2 separate regions of the Homo sapiens genome follow, and region 1 is linked to region 2. The links are contacts of gene promoters, found by promoter capture Hi-C in human tissues and cell types (Jung and others, 2019). All regions are on one chromosome and are shown on one strand. The core of a region is centred on a gene start or on the middle of the fragment in contact, and the rest is flanking DNA. Distances in the headings are between cores, read along the strand shown.

Region 1 (2,700 bases), core at 78-2,577, 1.1 Mb before region 2:
CCTCAAGCAGTCCTCCCGCCTCAGCCTCCCAAAGCGCTAGGATTACAGACGTGAACCACTGCGCCCAGCCGTAATAATTATTTTCAACCAAGGAAAAATGCCTTTCCTTGATTTGATTAATGTACCCATCTCTTAACTATGTGTAACGGCAGAGAGGCCCCCCAAATGCCTGAGATGAATTCCTGTGTAAAAGAGCTGGAGGCAGATTCTGTGCTGAGCAGGAGGAGTGTGTGGGGCCACCACTCACCAGGGAGAGGGGGCCTTGGGGCCTGGTTCCCTGGGAGACACAGTGCCCCCTCCTGCCTGCCCAGAGGCCACGCTCAGGGCAGAGCAGGGGCCAGGCCTCCCCACCCGCTCACCAGGTCCGCGCCTAACATCTCCCATGTGCCCTCGAGCCTCGGCCACGCTGAAGGCATCAGGAAAACAATTGGACTTACGTTTGACGGTGCCTCGGGACTCCTGGAAGCCGGCTGCCTCGGAGCCCCAGCCCAGCGCCTCACAGTCATGTGCGTCCACCTGGCCGGCTCTGGCCCCAGGGCTCGGCCCTCCCCGGGTCCTGTCCACCAGCCAGCAGGACCTCCACAGCCCCACGCTGCGCCTGCGCCCATCCTCCAGCGTCTGGCACACCCAGTTGGAGGTGAAGGCCGCCACGTTGTTGAGGATGAGTGAGACCAGGGCCACCAGCACGGCCGCGGCCACGAGTCTCTGCACGGTCATCGCTGACGCCGGTGCCGCCGCTTATCCGGAGAAAGCCAAGTCCCAGTCCGCGGCCGCACGTCCAGGGAGAGCCGACGCTGCTAGGGGTGGCTAGAGGACATCACCACTCATCCTCGGGGCGGCGCGGGCGGAGGCCCATGGGATGGTCCAGGTGTGCCGCCTCTCGGCCCGGCCTTATCCTCCTTCCTGCACCTGGAGCAGGGCCAGGCCTGTGCTGAAGCTGCTCGCCTCGGGGCCCATCCCAGGGAGCAGAGGGTGGGCAGCAGCAAGAACCCAGGGCCAGGAGTGCGCCGTCTTCCCGGGAAGCGGAGGCCGGCCTGTGCCGCGCGTGCCTCTTCTCGCCTGCAGCAGTGGAAAACAGAGTCACTCGGGAGGCCGGCAGCAGTGGGAGTCGAGCCCGCGCCACACTCCTTAGCACCGGCCTGCTGTGAGTGCCAGGCTCCGGGCAGGGTGGCCGGTGTGGAGCGGGTTCACAGCTCCTCTGTGCTGCCTGGGCCCCTGTGTGGATGCCTCCAGGGCAGTTGGCCGGTCCTGGAAAGCAGAGTGGCTGCTGCAGGGACGCCCGTGTGCGCAGAGCTCGCCTTCCCTGGCTCTCAGCAGAGAGGAAATGGTTGTTTTTGAGACTGTTTTTGGTGAGCTGGAAGGCGTAGCCAACCGCAACAAATAGCGGCCCTGCCGCGGCAGCCAGACACCAACAGGATGTGCTTCCTGATGGGAAAGGCCAGGAGACTTCTGAGGCCCTGCTCCAGGCCCACCTCCTGCCGCCCCTCCCCATCTTCCTGTCCCAGAGGAGAGGCCAGGGATGCCGGGTGCGGGACAGATCCCTCGTCTCGCCTGTTGCTTTTAAGCCTGGTGGCCCCCGGGGCCTGGAGGCTGGTACTGAGCGACTATTGCCTGCCCTGGGGACTTCACACCCCCCAGCCATCCAGTTGCCCCCAGGACCATAGGTACCCCCAGGACCATAGGAACCACAAGCCTCCCCCCGCCCGTGTGTTCCAGGCCTGCCCCCGCCACGGGAATGCTGCCCTCAAAAGGGGGGCAGATATCACAGGATTGCTGGGAAGGGGAGAGACCCGTGTGCCTGGAGGGAGCAAGTTCACCCAGACCTGCAGGGCCAGGGACCTGTACTTGGAGGACCTCGGGGCCAGGGACCTGTACTTGGAGGGCCTTGGGGCCAGGGACCTGTACTTGGAGGACCTCGGGGCCAGGGACCTGTACTTGGAGGACCTCGAGGCCAGGTCATTCTTAGGTGGCAAGAAGGGTAAGATTCTGGATGTGCTGGGTGGGGCTCTCAGCGGGGCCTGGGACAGAGCGAATGTCACGTGGGGCCTGGGCCACCTCTGCTATTGATGGGAACGGTCACCCCCCACAGCTGGGGACAGGACTAGGCAGGTCACCTTGTGAGTGGTCAGGCTCTCGGGCAGAGCTTATGCTGCCAGGGAGCTCAGAAGCATCTTCGTCTATTCTGCTCAGAATTATTCTGCCCAGCTGGGCAGACACCACGAGAGGGTCTCCTACTCTGTCCCATCTCCAGAGACCCGAAACCCAGCATGGGATTCCCAGCCTACCCAGGCTCCAAAGCTTCGTGAATGCAGGTGTCCCACATCCGTGCAAACTGTTCATGGGCACACGCCCAAGACAGTGCTGGGACAGAGAGTCCTGTTCCCAGCCTGTGGTAACAGCAGAGCTTTGACCGTTTCCTGTCCTTGCACTGCCCGTGCTTGGGCCCTGGCTCAGGGCGGTCCCGAGAGCTGCCACTTCCTGGGACCAGTCTCCATTCACACGTTGGCATGTGGCTCTGTATATCCACAGGTGAAGCAAGGTTCCCCACACACGCCCTGTGTCTGTTCCAGAAAGGCAGCAGCTCCGTCCTCACCAGCCCGTGGTGCGTGCTGGGTCCTGAGAAGCGTTTCTCCACTGGCTTCCTGAGGGACGTGCCTGGGGGGGATTTTCCCCGGGGATTTGTCGCAGACGTGTCCGTCA
Region 2 (2,700 bases), core at 1-2,500:
AGCGCAATTCAACCAGAAATCCAGGGCCGAAGTGGTGAATAAGCAGAAAAAGCAGGACCGTCAGGTCTTGACAGTGCCTTTCCCGACTCCAGGGGCAGCGTCGACCGGTCCCACATCAACCCCGCCGGCCAGCGCGCACCTGCCCAGTTCCCACGCCCCGGCCCGGGCCGCTCCGTACCTGCTCTGCCCCGTAGACCGTAGCAAACTGGATGAAGTCCTCGATGCGGACGAAACCGTCCCCATCCCCGTCCAGGGCATCGAACACGGCTCGGAGGCGGGGGCCGTCCTCCTGACTCCCCACGGGCTCGCTCGGAAGGGGGTGGGTCTGGCTGAGGTCCGAGGGCTGCGGCGGGGACCCGGGACCTTGCTCCAGCGCCAGCTCGCCCGCCGTGGGCGCGGGGAAGGGAGAGAAGACGTCGACCTCGCCCCGCGCTCGGTGGCTGCTGCTGGACCCCTGCAAGCGGAAAGGCGCGCTCTCCGGGCAGCTCGCGGGGCCACACTCCTCGGGCTCCTCAGTCCAGGAGAACAACGGGTCGAGTTCTGGAAGCGGCGCTTCGGAGCGCGGCCCTGGGCCCGGGGCGTCGGGGCTCGCAAGCTGCCCCCGCGGGCCGGAGCGCGGCGGCGGGGCGGACGGCCCGGGGTCTCGCGGGCCTCCCTCCAGCCCCGGGGCCGGCCCGGCGCTCCAACGCGCCCCGCCATCTGCAGCGGCCCCGGGCGCAGGCTCATCCAGGCCCGGGGACTGCGGGTCGGGGCCGCCGACGGGCGCTCCGAGGCGTAGCTCCGCAGGGCCCGGAGCCAGTTGTGCCGCCCCCGGCCCGTCCGGCCCGCCCGGCTCCGGGTCGGGCCCCGGCGGCTCCGAGCCCGGGGGCGAGGCCGGCGGGGCCGACGCCATGCTCCCGAGAGGCTAGTGGTGCGGAAGGGCGCGGGCGGCAGACAAAGGCGCTCAGGGCGCGGCGGCGGGCGCGGGCATCCCCTCGGCGGCGCGGGCGGGCGCGCGCGGGGCGCCCGGGCTGCTGGGGCTGGCGCTCGGGCCCTGCTCTGTCCTCGCCCATCTTCGCACCGCGCCTCAGCTGCCCTCGGCCCGGCGGCGCGGCGGGCGCAGGCCCATGGCGGCGGGGCGGCCTAGGGAGGGCGGCGAGGATCCGGGCGGCGGATGGCGGGGGACGGGGGCCGAGGAGGCCGGGGGACGGGGGCCGAGGAGGCCGGAGGCCGCGGAGCCTGTGAAGCAGGATGAGGAGACTAAGGAGGCTGAGGCGCCTGAGGTACCCGGAGAACTAACGCCGCCGCCGCCCAGGCCCCGCCCCCCGTCGGGCCTGACGTCAGCACGTCCCGGCGGGGTCCCAGCCCCTCGCCGGCTTGCTGTAGAGGCAGGCGCCGGGTGTGTCGCGGCAGTGCAGCGGCCGCGAAGGGGTGTTTTGCTGTATGTCATATTCCTCGTTTCGCCAGAGCGGGGGTCCCGAGCTTCGGGCGCGGGACGCGGGGGTGCTCCGAGGCTGCGAGTGGAGGCGTGACGTGACGTCCCTGGCAAGAGGCGCGCGGAGTCAGGCCTTACTTAGAACGTGTTCCCGCCGCACAGCTACCAGCGGGCGCGACCGCTACCCACGCATGGTGCGGTCGAGTAAACGGCACCGCCTGGCGAGCGAGAGACGCAAAGGGACATAGCCCCCTAGGAGCTGAGCTCTTCGGGGGTAAAGCGTTCTCACGTTGATGAGACCAGGAGGCGGCGCACGCCTGGCTCCGCGGCCCAGGGGTTGCAGGTGCCCCAGGGTTCGCGGGGCGCAGACGCCGCAGAGGGCGACGCCCTGCCCGGGTCCCGCGCGGACCCGGGGGACGCAGGGTCTGACACGGAGTGCGGAGGGGCCCCAGACACGCAGTCCATGTCCCTTGAAACCAGAGGCACGCGCGGCCACGCGCTAGGCCTTTCCCTTAAGCCTGTGACCAAGATCTCCGGGACTCCCAGCGTTGGGACGGGCGCGCTGGCCCACGCCCAAGCGGGAGGATCGCTTGCGCCCAGGAGATTGAGACCAGCCTGAGCACCAAAGCGAGACCTCGTCTCTACAAAAAATAAGACTCAAGAAGACACCCAGGGTGAATCGCCCGTCTGCAGCCAGCCTCCCGAGCACCGTGGCCGCGTCTGACAACTGACCTCTGTGTCTGGGTGTCCCTGTCCTCAGAGGGACACGGGACCTCAGAAAGGACCACAGCCCGGCGGCAGGCATGATGGTGGGAAAGCTAGTTAGGACAGGTGAGGCACTAAATTTAGCCTGTCATAATTTGTATCAGGGAAATGATGAACTTGTATTTTTACACACCATGGGCACCAACACAAGATATGGTTTCGTAAGCAGCTTTGGCAAGAACCAAAGGAACGGAACCTCTGCTTCCAAGTGTACGGTCAGGAGCAGCGTGTTAATTAAGTGAGTCATCTTCCGTGGCAGAATCCCAGGGTACATGGGACCAGACTTCGCGAGGCTGGCATTAGGAAAAGGAATGTGAGGGATCCTCCTCCCCAAACCGTATTCTCATTTTCTTGTAAGAGCTGTACGTGTTCATGAGGAAGATACTGCATTCAAAGAACGAAATCACCAGCAGCTTTGGCAAGAATTCAAATTTGGGCTGATGCCTTCGGCCGGATAAAATTTTCAGAAGCAGTGATAGTGATGTGTCAACCTTTCTAAATAGGGGTGTTAGTGTGGGCGA

What was found. The method cuts DNA at HindIII sites, captures the fragments that hold promoters and counts their contacts. A contact is called where the count stands out against the background at its distance.
Region 1: the fragment with the promoter of TMEM204 here is called in contact with the fragment with the promoter of RAB11FIP3 in region 2 in 1 of the 25 tissues and cell types used here (heart left ventricle).

The regions. Positions count from the first base shown.
Region 1 is chr16:1,532,293-1,534,992 of GRCh38, reverse strand. TMEM204 (transmembrane protein 204) reads right to left here and starts at 1,327. Exons shown (of 3, transcript NM_024600.6): 1 at 438-1,327. The coding sequence starts at 717. The region is part of intron 19 of IFT140 (intraflagellar transport 140); the gene reads left to right. RefSeq lists enhancers at 594-1,297, 1,298-2,001. The HindIII fragment of the contact is 11,677 bases long and covers 716-2,700 here.
Region 2 is chr16:424,199-426,898 of GRCh38, reverse strand. RAB11FIP3 (RAB11 family interacting protein 3) reads right to left here and starts at 1,250. Exons shown (of 14, transcript NM_014700.4): 1 at 179-1,250. The coding sequence starts at 892. The HindIII fragment of the contact is 17,968 bases long and covers 1-2,700 here.